4 separate regions of the Homo sapiens genome follow, and all the other regions are linked to region 3. The links are contacts of gene promoters, found by promoter capture Hi-C in human tissues and cell types (Jung and others, 2019). All regions are on one chromosome and are shown on one strand. Each heading gives the region's core, a stretch centred on a gene start or on the middle of the fragment in contact. The rest is flanking DNA. Distances are from core to core; before and after follow the strand shown.

Evidence for each region. Contacts are between HindIII fragments. The study calls those that stand out against the background at their distance.
Region 1: a fragment that was not itself captured here is called in contact with the fragment with the promoter of LBX1 in region 3 in 4 of the 25 tissues and cell types used here (lymphoblastoid cells, mesenchymal stem cells, pancreas and 1 more).
Region 2: a fragment that was not itself captured here is called in contact with the fragment with the promoter of LBX1 in region 3 in 3 of the 25 tissues and cell types used here (IMR-90 fibroblasts, dorsolateral prefrontal cortex and spleen).
Region 4: a contact is called between a fragment that was not itself captured here and the fragment with the promoter of LBX1 in region 3, in 1 of the 25 tissues and cell types used here (dorsolateral prefrontal cortex).

The regions. Positions count from the first base shown.
Region 1 is chr10:101,504,255-101,507,084 of GRCh38, forward strand. All of the region lies in intron 4 of BTRC (beta-transducin repeat containing E3 ubiquitin protein ligase), which reads left to right. Among named protein-coding and RNA genes, the nearest start is that of POLL, 83 kb to the right of the region's middle. RefSeq lists an enhancer at 2,638-2,830. The HindIII fragment of the contact is 4,822 bases long and covers 1-2,830 here.
Region 2 is chr10:101,529,397-101,532,342 of GRCh38, forward strand. It overlaps BTRC (beta-transducin repeat containing E3 ubiquitin protein ligase), which reads left to right. Exons shown (of 15, transcript NM_033637.4): 7 at 1,841-1,937; 8 at 2,899-2,946. Among named protein-coding and RNA genes, the nearest start is that of POLL, 57 kb to the right of the region's middle. The HindIII fragment of the contact is 3,559 bases long and covers 1-2,946 here.
Region 3 is chr10:101,228,171-101,230,873 of GRCh38, forward strand. It overlaps LBX1 (ladybird homeobox 1), which reads right to left and starts at 1,293. Exons shown (of 2, transcript NM_006562.5): 1 at 321-1,293. The coding sequence starts at 645. It overlaps LBX1-AS1 (LBX1 antisense RNA 1), which reads left to right and starts at 1,424. Exons shown (of 3, transcript NR_029380.1): 1 at 1,424-1,644. The HindIII fragment of the contact is 30,882 bases long and covers 1-2,703 here.
Region 4 is chr10:101,700,935-101,703,881 of GRCh38, forward strand. It overlaps LINC03046 (long intergenic non-protein coding RNA 3046), which reads right to left. Exons shown (of 3, transcript NR_186546.1): 3 at 1,043-1,361. Among named protein-coding and RNA genes, the nearest start is that of FBXW4, 7.2 kb to the left of the region's middle. The HindIII fragment of the contact is 4,281 bases long and covers 1-2,947 here.

The DNA.
Region 1 (2,830 bases), core at 258-2,757, 280 kb after region 3:
TAAAAAATAGTTTTTTATCTCCTCTCCCTCTTGATGTTTATTGTGTGGGAGAGGATGTTTGTCCAACAAGCATATTGCTCCTCTTAGAGCAGGTGAGCTTGGTAATGCTGGGTCCCTTTTGCATTTGGTTATATTCATTCTCCCCCTTCCCACCTATTTCTCACTTCATCTCTCCTGTAGCCATCTCCCTCCATCTCTTCCCCAGCTCATCATCTCTCCCCATCCCTATCTTTCCCCTAGACCTGCTTATCCCTCTTCCTTCATCCTTATCCCATCTCTCACCAACCCCACTGCCTAGTATCCACTGTCCTTTCCCCAATCCTCGGTCACTTTTGTCATTCCTCTTCCTCTTCTACCCTCTTCTCTAGCCCTAGCCCTTCCTCTCCTTGCGTTCCTCCTTCTGCTTTCCCATTTTCCCCCTTCCATTTCCCTTTTCTTTCTCTCCTCACTTTCTCTCCCTTTGACTCTCTTTCTTTTCTCCTCTTTCCTCCCCTCCTTTCAGCTCCCCTCATCACAATAACCTATAATTCTCTGTCCTCCAGGATCAGATCTTGACTTCTCTAACAGCAAAGATTAATTTTGCTTGCTCTGATCAATTTGATATTATGAACAAAGAATTCTCTAGATGGCACAGATACACTCCCCCTCCCCCATATTCTTCAAATATTTGACTAATAAATTTTAAAAAAATTTTGTTTTCTTTTTGAGATGAAGTCTTACTCTGTCACCCAGGCTGGAGTGCAGTGGTACAATCTCAGCTCACTGCAACTTCTGCCTCCCGTGTTCAAGCAATCCTCCTGCCTCAGCCTCCCAAGTAGCTGGGATTACAGGCGTGCACCACTGCACCTGAGTATATATTTATATATATATATGTGTATATATATGTATATATATATGTATATGTATATATATATATATATATATTTTTTAGTAGACACGAGGTTTCACCATGTTGGCCAGGCTGGTCTAAGACTCTTGACCTTAAGTGATCCGCCTGCCTCAGCCTCCCAAAGTGCTGGGATTACAGGCATGAGCCACCATGCCTGGCCGTTGACTAATACATTTTTAAATAAACAGAAAGATGGCCGGGCGCGGTGGCTTACGCCTGTAATCCCAGCACTCTGGGAGGCCGAGGCGGGCGGATCATGAGGTCAGGAGATCAAGACCATCCTGGTTAACACGGTGAAACCCCGTCTCTACTAAAAATTCAAAAAAATTAGCCGGGCGTGGTGGCAGGCGCCTGTAGTCCCAGCTGCTCAGGAAGCTGAGGCAGGAGAATGGCGTGAACCTAGGAGGTGGAGCTTGCAGTGAGCAGAGATTGTGCCACTGCACTCCAACCTGGGCGACAGAGCGAGACTCCGTCTCAAAAAAATAAAAAAAAAAAAATAATAATAAAAAAACAAATATACCCACCAAAATGTGAACATTATGTCTTTGTTGATAGTTGAAATTATGGGCAATTTCCATGTTTTTTGTGTATCTGAATTTTTCATATTTACTAAAATGTGTCTACTGTAAATGCTATTTTTAGAAAATGAATTAAACATTCTTTGCTTGACCCCCCCCATAGATCTTTATTTAATCAAAGTGAAAACAAAATGACTCAGATTTGATCCTTTTTGAAGATGAATTTGGTTTGCTATTTTGATGTTCAGTTTTCCAATTTTTTTTTTTTTTTGAGACGGAGTCTCGCTGTGTCGCCCAGGCTGGAGTGCAGTGGCACAATCTCAGCTCACTGCAACCTCCGCCTCCAGGATTCAAGCAATTCTCCTGCCTCAGCCTCCCATTAGCTGGGACTACCGGTGCCGGCCACCATGCACTGCTAATTTTTCTATTTTTAGTAGAGACGGGGTTTCACCATGTTGGTCAGGCTGATCTCGAACTCCCAACCTCAGGTGATCCGCCGCCTCAGCCTCCCAAAGTGCTGGGGTTACAGGCGTGAGCCACCTGTAGTTTTCGCGCCTGGCTAGTTTTCCAAATTTTTTTACCTTTCAAAATGGGTGGCCCTTTGAACTGAAGCATGAAGCCATCAGCTCATTGGCACTATTGTAGCACATGGTGAATGTTAAATACAGTTGCTCAAGTTAGGCTTCAACTCTAAGTCCTATAAGACCTTTCCTGCCTTTCTCTGTCCTCCCAAAATTTAGCTCATGTTTTTTTGTAATATTTCAATATTAGAGTGTTCAGTCTGATAGACTTGGCAATTTTTATACAGATTTGTTTTCAGCCCTGTTATCAGTCTTGGGGGTGGGGAGGACAGGCATTGATGAGCAGCAGTTCTATTATATACCTTGTTTATTGTCCTTGGTAGTGTTGGTTATAAAAAGTGTAACAGTCATGCTGTACCAAGCCAAGATGCCAACTCTGCCATAGTTAAATGTTAAAATTCCAAGCTCAGATTCAAAATTGACTGAAAGGAAATCTTTCAGCAGACTATTTCAATCTCAGTTGACTAACCCTAGGTATGCAAGGTGGATGGCAAGGCTAGATGAAGTGCTCTAAACAACTGAAGTTTACTTATTTCCTAGCTATAGTGTACTCATTGTTTCACAAAGGGTTAAATTATGTAGTTAGTGAATGCTTTTCTAGCTGCAGGGGTTTTTGAAAAGAGATCTAGGAATTCTGCAGTTAATTGAATTCTTCAGGCATGGACTCAGGGTCTCTGAAAAAATTTGAGTGAGCAAAATTCTCTTGCTTTGCTCCTAGATATAGTTCATACCATGTCTTAGGAATCCAGAATTATTTTTTGAAGGATTTTATGCCTATATATGCTGACTGAACATTTAATAAGATAACCACGACATTTTAAAAGATTTTATACAATGTACTT
Region 2 (2,946 bases), core at 236-2,735, 300 kb after region 3:
GCTAGAGATTAAAAGAAGACAGGAATCTCAGGAATGGTGGGCATTGAGAAACAATAAAGTAGTTAAGAATGTGGGTGGGCTCAGGAGTCAGACTTAAAATCTTCACATTCAAAATCTATTATTTGCCTGCAAAGTGTTTGTAGAATAATATTGTACAGAGAAATGTACCATTAATCTGGAATTCTTTCATAACGCATCTTGTTTCCCCTTTTGTTTATGCTGGTGTATCATGTTTCATTAATCCCCCTTTTTATAAGTATTATTTTCACTTCTCTATTTCAGATTTTCTTTTCTGTATTAACACAGAAGTTAGAGCCATCTACCTTCCTGATAGGAAATTTTCTCAACTAATTTTCAGGGTATATAACAGGGAGAGGGCAGGGGAGAAACACTCCTGGAGACACCAAACAATTAATTATATTGTAATGGAGCTATAGAGGGAGGAGTGGATGACTGGCCCAGAGAAAACATGATTTCTCTGGTGCCAGGATTACACTCAGAGGCATTTCTGCCTCTCTCCACTTTGCAAGGCACGGTGCCAGTGAGAACAGCAGTTAGTACACCCATAGTGGGGTTTACTAGCTTCCACACCGTGTTTGGTGGGTTCTTAACTTCCGGATGAGGAATTAAATTTTTTACCCAGCAGGAAGTGATTGCCATTTACTGATTTTTTTTTTGTAGCAAAGATCTAGCTTGGGATACGAGTATTCCAGAGATGTGCTGTCATAAGGAAGGAGATACTAACAAATGTTGCTCACTGGAATCAGGGAAGGCAGTTAAGTACATGTGTATGTACACAGCCAGGAACACACCTGTGAAAGTCAGTTTCATGCCTTAGACTTGATAGCAGTGCTCTTAGGCATTTCTTTTTTTTCTTCTTCCCTAGCTGCTGCTGGACACACCTGTGATCCTTTTGTTTTCTGATGAAATGAACTGAATTGCTCCTTTCAAAGCATAGTTGCACTGATTAGCAGCAGCCTGGGTGACTGAGCAGCCACCACACCTTACCCTGTACAAATAAAGACCTAGCAAAAGTGATCTCCATGCCAGAGGCATTGCTGCTGTCTACAATGCTGGGGACCACTGACACAGTAAAAGGGAAAAAAAAAAAAACCTATAGGGCATGTGCTAGTTCAAAGGTAATAGTTACCATTACTAACAAAATTTCCAAAAGATGAGGCCAGTGAATCTAAGCAGTAGTCTTAATAGAGCAATAGATGAATTCTGATTGTACATATTCCATTTGTTTACTGATATTATAATATTCCTAAAGGCTTGGTACTCCGATGTTCTACACTGGAAATAATCATGTTTTACCCAAAAGCAAATCAGTGTTGGTCAGATTCTTTAGAGCCCAGAAGGTTACTCTTTGACATGGGACTCCTGAAATCAGGCTTACCTTTGCTCCTCCGCAGACAGCTATGGAGAGTATATGGAATGGTAACCGTGAAAACACTTTCAAAATATATGAAGTTCCTTATAAATATATAATGTCGGCCGGGTGTGATGGCTCACGCCTGTAATCCCAGCACTTTGGGAGGCCAAGCAGGCGGGTCATTTGAGGCCAGGAGTTCAAGACCAGCCTGACCAACATGGTGAAACCCCATCTCTACTAAAATACAAAAATTAGCCAGCATGGTGGCAGATGACTGTAATCACAGCTACTCAGGAGGCTGAGGCAGGAGAATCACTTGAACCCAGGAAGCGGAGGTTGCAGTGAGCCAACATCACACTGCTGCACTCCAGCCTGGGCAACAGAGCGAGACTCTGTCTCAAAATATATATGTATTTAAATATATAATGTCATGATTTTCACTGGGAAATATTTGTTATTTTTTAGGGGACAGTATTTATTCAAAAACAAACCTCCTGACGGGAATGCTCCTCCCAACTCTTTTTATAGAGCACTTTATCCTAAAATTATACAAGACATTGAGGTAAGAATCTATGTATTTTGGGGTATTGCCCAAGGGCACAGAATTATCAGCATTCTTCAGTCACAGTATGGTTACAGCAAGCCCATTAAGGTTTATTGACATGAGTTGGGAATCAATCTCTTAGCTGGCCATGGTGGCTCACACCTGTAATCCCAGCATTTTTGGAGGCTGAGGTCAGGAGTTTGAGACCAGCCTGGCTAACATGGTGAGACCCCTGTCTCTACTAAAAATACAAAAATTAGCCAGGCATGGTGGCACACACCTGTAATTCCAGCTACTCAGGAGGCTGAGATAGGAGAATCACTTGAACCTGGGAGGCACATGTTGCAGTGAGCCAAGATCGCACCACTGCACTCCCTCCTGAACGACAGAGCGAGACTCCATCAAAAAAAAAGAAAAGGAAAAGAAAATCAATCTCTTTACAGGCGAGTAGGGTAGGTAAAATAAATTGCTAGGCAAAATTTTAAAGCTTTAAAAAATGGTTTACTAATAAGTAGATGAGAGAGTTAAAGAGATTGATCCCTTCATACATAGCAGTGTGACTGGTAAACTTGTACTCATAAGCTCATATTTAAATATCTTCTGAATTGAACCTCCTTAGAAGTTCATCAGTAGCAATCAGTAGCAATGGCCATCACATATGTAAGAGCACTGAGTGTATAACCTCACGTAGTTCGTAGCTTTTCTTCTCTTGATGAGTAGTCTCTTTCCACCAGATTTATTATTTAATTGAACAAATTATAGGCAGGGAAGTTCTAGGAAACAACCTTTAATTACCTTGCAAAAGGAAGAATATTTTATAAATATAGATAGTAGCCTTTTAAAGACATTTTTTAGTTTTCCCTAAGTTGTGTATATCCCATAGAGTAAAGCATTGAGCCATTGATTGTCATTAAAGCCTAAAAAGAGTTTGATTCTAGGTGTTTCCTAACACTGCCTCTTTCCCATTCCTTCTTCTCAGACAATAGAATCTAATTGGAGATGTGGAAGACATAGTTTACAGAGAATT
Region 3 (2,703 bases), core at 43-2,542:
TCTCGATTCCCCACGCCGAGTAGCCGGGCTAAGAGCGCCCAGGACACTGGGAACGCAAGGGAGCCCGGCAAAGCAAGCAGACTGCGGAAAGAGCTTGGCCACCCTTCTCCTGCCACCCCCCAGCTCTGGCCTACCCAGAGGTCCCTGGGAAATAAGGATTGGGTCCCGTCCCACATATCTTCACTCCCATAAGCAGCTGCTCAGGCTGGAAGGCCCTGGCGGCCGGAGAGGGCAGAGGCGAGCAGAGGCATAGGGGACGAAGCGCGCAGGGCACAGGGCGCGAGGCGCTGGGTGCAGGGGAACCCAGCAGCTGCGCCTACCTTCGGCTGCCTGCAGAACGCTGACCTCCAGCCCCTTAAACGTCTTGCTGGCGAGCTCCTCCAGCGCGCACAGCGGCGAGGTCTGCGAGAGCAGCGCGCGGCCCGCCAGGGGCAAGCCGCCCTGCGCGTGCTTGTCCGCGGCGGCCAGCAGGTGCGCCGCCCCGCACAGCGAGTAACTTCTCCGCACAGACGGCTTGTTGAGGATGTCCTCGATGCTGAACGGCGTCAGTGGCTTGTTGGAGTTGGCAGGCGGAGGCAGGTGGTCCAGCGGGCTGCGCCGCCGCTCCTCCCCCGGCGCCGCCTTGCCGTCCTCCTTGGAAGTCATCTCGGCCTTGTTCGGGGTCCCGGCCGGGGCGGCTCGGGCCGCGGGGACCCAGCCCGCGGGCAGCTCGGGCGCCGGACGGCGCGGGCAGGCAGCGGCGGGTGGAAAGGAGGCCGCACTGGGCAGGGCGCGGGCCGGGCGCGGGGCCGATTAGCGCGGCGGCTGAGGAGGGGAGAACAGCGCGGGGCCCCGGGAAGAGGGCGCTGACGCGGGCGCCGCTGCTGCTGGGGCTTCCAGCAATCCGGGGCCGGAGCCGGGGCGCGCTGCGCGGGGCTCCAGTTTCGCCAACCCCGGTGCTATTTAAAGGTGTCAGGTGGCTCGGCAGTGGCTCCTGGCCCCGGGTCCTGGCGGCCGCAGTTGGAAGAGCCGAGGCGAGGGCGCCGATCCCGGACTGCGAGGGAGGCGGAGAGACGGGGCAATTGACTATTGCTAACAAGTTAGCCTTGATCGCGGTGTAATCAATTATCTGCAGCGGCACTTCTTTCTCTTTCTCTCTCCTTTCTCCCTTTTTCCTCTCTTCTTTGCCTCTGTTCTCTCCTCCTGTTCTCGCTCTCCCTCCCTCCCTCTCTCTTCTCTCTTCTCTGCTCCCCCCTTCTCTCTCCTTCTCTCCCTCTCCCTCGCCCTCTCTTTCACTCTCTGTCTGTCCAATGCAGGCGGCTGTAAGTTGGGAAGCTCATTAATTAGCGGGCCGGGGGTAGGAGGAGCCGGCTGGAATTAGCCTGCCTAATGCGCCTGTCAGTCCGGGCGCTGCGCTGCGTTCGGCCCGAGCTGTTTGTAAATTACATTAGCTGCTCCTTTATTGCACCCGAACCTCGGGCGACTGAAAAGCCACCGCCCCCACCCCAAACTGCGAGCCGCGCTCCTGGCGCACCCGCCTCCCGCCGGCCTAGCTGCAATGACCGCACCGGCCCGAAGGTCTCGGTCTCTCCGACCCGGGATGTGGAGCCCGAAAGAGTGGTGGGAACCCCAGCCCGGGAGGGACGCGGCCGCCGCTCGGGCCAGGTAGGACCAGGAGCCCGGGTGGGCCCCGCTGCCACCCAGAGTGGACTTTGCGGAGCTGAGATCAAGAGCCCAGCGCCTCTACCTCTGACCCTCTTGCCCCTCACCCCACTGCCTGGGCGACGCGCCTGGGGAGAGGGAATCTGAAGCCCTCCTGCGCTGGCCCGCAGGAGGTCAGAGCCGGCTGCGCAGCCTTGGGTGGGCGACGCGGGAAGGGGGTGGAGGACCCCAGGGGTTGGGGGAGGGGGCTAGTCGGAGAGCTCAGCCTTCTCCACGCGGAGAGGCGGAGGAGGGAATTGTTGGCGGCTCTGGACGCCTCTCCCCGGCCTGATTCCGAAGCGGCCGCCCTACCTCCTCCGGCAATCTTGCTCACTTTCCTCCGGCAGCCGCTCCCCAGGCTGGCTGGGGCCACCAACGGCCTGATGATGGGCGTCTGAAGAGTAGCCAGGCCAGGTGCCGGGGCTAACGGGGCCGGCTCCGTGCCTCCCTGCTGCGCTCCGCCCGGGCCCCGGCCGGGGCCCCGCTGCCGGCCCCGCCTAGCCCAGCGCCCGGCTTGAGTGCATGGCCAGGCCGACTCCAGCTGTTCCGGATGCGGGGCGGGGGCCCGGCGGGAGCCAGGCCGCGGCTGGGGCTTTGCTCTCAGGAACTCGCAGGGAGGCCAGGCTTCCAGTTAGGCTGGGGCTAAAGACCTTAGGGCCCGGGATCTGTGAATATCGGGAGAACATGTTGTGTGCATTGTTACTTGAAGGTGTTTGTGTTTTTGAATGTGTGTTTGTGTGTGTTTCTCCATGCGTATATTTGTGTAAATGTGTGTGAACCTGTGGGTATATAGGTGTGTTTGAACTCAGCTATTTCTTTCATTTCCCTGAGGCATTCCAGCAGGGCTGTGCCCTCAGGCCTTCCTGTCTTGCTACCCCATTCTGTTTATGTGGGGCCACTGGCCTCCTTACTAATTTTCCATTTCTGCCCTTGGAGAAAGGAGGGGAGGACCTAGAGGGGGTTGGAGTCCAGGGAGAAGGGCTGTTCCCCTCCCACACACACACAGCCCTGGCCCTGGCTTTG
Region 4 (2,947 bases), core at 80-2,579, 470 kb after region 3:
TGGGCAACACAGCGAGACCCCCGTCTCTAAAAACTGTAAGAATAAATTAGGTAGGTGTGGTGGTGTATACCTGTAGTCCCAGCTACTCGTGAAGCTGAAGCTAGAGGATTACTTGAGCCCAAAAAGTTGAGGCTGCAGTGAGCCATGTTCATGCCACTGCACTCCAAACTGGGCAACAGAATGAGACCTTGTCTCAAAAAACACTAAAACTTTAAAAATTAAAATAAAATGTGTTTCATGTAATAGTAAAATAAACAACAAGTTAAAAGTCTTAGAAAGGAAAAGAAACAAGAAGTCTCACAGTGAATGCTGTATTTGTAAATATTCAAGCTTCTCAAAAATAGAGGAAGAGACTCTAAAATGTTATTTTCAGAAATTATCTATTGGGTTGGTAGTTTATATCTTGAAGTACCACCAAGATCTGCTCTGGTTTTATATGAATCCATCTTCTTTGCCATATTCAAAGATAAAATATTTTTACCACCTATGAAATAATTTCAAGCAAGTGCTATTTAAAAATAGTTATTTTGGCCAGGCGCGATGGCTCATGCCTGTAATCCCAGCACTTTGGGAGGCCGAGGCGGGTGGATCACAAGGTCAAGAGATCAAGACCATCCTGGCCAACATGGTGAAACCCCGTCTCTACTAAAAATACAAAAATTAGCTGGGCATGGTGGTGCACGCCTGTAGTCCCAGCTACTCAGGAGGCTGAGGCAGGAGAATCCCTTGAACCTGGGAGGTGGAGGTTGTAGAGAACCGAGATTGTGCCACGGCACTCCAGCCTGGTGACAGAGTGAAACTCTGTCTCAAAAAAATAAATAAATAGAAATAAAAATAGTTATTTTATGCAGAAGAAAAAAAACTGGAAGGAAATATGACAAAAAGCTAGAAATGGTTGCTTGTGACAGATGGAATTATGGGTAGTTCTATTTGCTGCTGCTTTATACTTTTCTTGCATTTTTAAAGTCTTGTGCAGTGAGTATGTATTACATAGATAATCATTTTTTAAAAGAAAAAAACCTCAGAGGTATTTACACCTAAATGTAAGAAAGAACTTAATTAAGCTAGTTCATTTTAATATTTTTAAGGAAGGGCTGCATATAGTGACTTTCTTTCAAAGAGTACAATATGGAAAAGGGGGATGGGGAGAGCAACTCGACAGTGGAGAAGCCTGACAAGAACTACCTCAGCCAGGTGATCAAGGTCAGCACCACTAGTCATAAGTCATATTGATAGTAGGTCTTGGTACAATCTGATGAAAATGGCAAGTTCATTAAAACTGGGAAAGCTGAGAAACTGTCACAGCCAAGAAGAGCCACAGGAGACATGATGACTAAAGGTAATGTATTCTGGATGGGATCCTGGAACAGAAAAGAAAAAGGACATTAGATAAAAACTAAGGAAATTGGATCGGTTTGTTAATAATAACAATCATAATATTGTAAAATGTGATAATAGGGGTCTATGGAAACGCTCTACTATCTTCACAATATTTCTGTAAATCTAAAACTGTTCTAAAAAAGTTTTTTAAAGTTTCATCTTAGAATGGGCGTGGTGGCTCATACCTGTAATCCCAGCACGTTGTGGGGCTGAGGAGGGCATATCACTTGAGGTCAGGAGTTCAAAACCACCCTGGCCAACATGGTGAAACCCCATCTCTACAAAAAATACAAAAATTAGCCAGGTGTGGTAGTGGGCACCTGTAATCCCAGCTACTCAGGAGGCTGAGGCTGGAGGATTACTGGAGCCCAGGAGTTGGAGGTTACATGAGCTATGATCCCGCCACTATGCTCCAGCCTGGACAACAGCTGTAAGATGTTTTCCAAAGGGTCACATAACATCATTCCAAGACACTGTCCTAATTTTATAACTGAGAAAAACAGACATTTCCCATCACTAATTTTTATATAAATTATATATGTGTATGCATTTAAATATATGGTATGTAAATGTATAGCTATGTCTACAAAAGTTAAGGACCATATGTCTATAATGAACAGTAGAGTAAGTAAGGAGGTGGGCAGGTGGGCAGGATAGAAATATACAATGTAATTTTTCTGGGGGGAAAAAAAACAGATCTCCAGGGGTTTTGCCAGTTAGTAATGCTGTTATTAGTAGGCAATGGCCTTCTTTGTGTCAACAGTGTACATTCCAAGAGATTTTGAATAAAATATAGAGCATACCATCAGCATTCAGATCTAAGATTAAATTCTTGTATTGCCATTGCCATGTGACATCAGATTTTGTGATTTTTCTAAGCCGGGCGTGGTGACTCACACCTGTAATCCAAGCACTTTGGGAGGCCAAGGCAGGCAGATCACTTGAGGTCAGGAGTTTGAGACCAGCCTGGCCAACATGGTGAAACCCCGTCTCTACTAAAAATATAAAAATTATCTGGGCATGGTGATAGGCGCCTGTAATTCCAGCTACTCAGGAGGCTGAGGCAGGAGAATCGCTTGACCCTTGGGAGGTGGAGGTTGCAGTGAGTTGAGATCATGCCACTGCACTCCAGCCTGGGAGACAGACCTTCTCCAAAAAAAAAAAAAAAAAAAAAGGTTTTGTGATTTTTCTGGTCTCTGCCAGTCAGAAGACTGAGTCATTTGGTAACAGATGATAGAAGATAAAAAAAAACTTGAAGATGAAGGGAACCACAAAACCTTGTGAAATTTTCATGATCACTGGGGATTTCTTACCTTGCCTTCAGATTCTAGGTTCTTTTTAAAAGTATAAGTAAATAATCAGTCACCACTAAGATAGAATATGTACAAATATGACCTTATGAGTTCTTTTCCAAGAAAATAATGAGAATTAAGTTCTAGAAAAAATTTGCTCCCAAGCATCTTTAGTTTTTCTGGAAGAAAGTGCCAGGTTAAATACAAAATTCTTATTTCTGATTCTATTGTTATTACTACTATTTAACAATGCCAAAGTTTAAGTAAATTTTTTT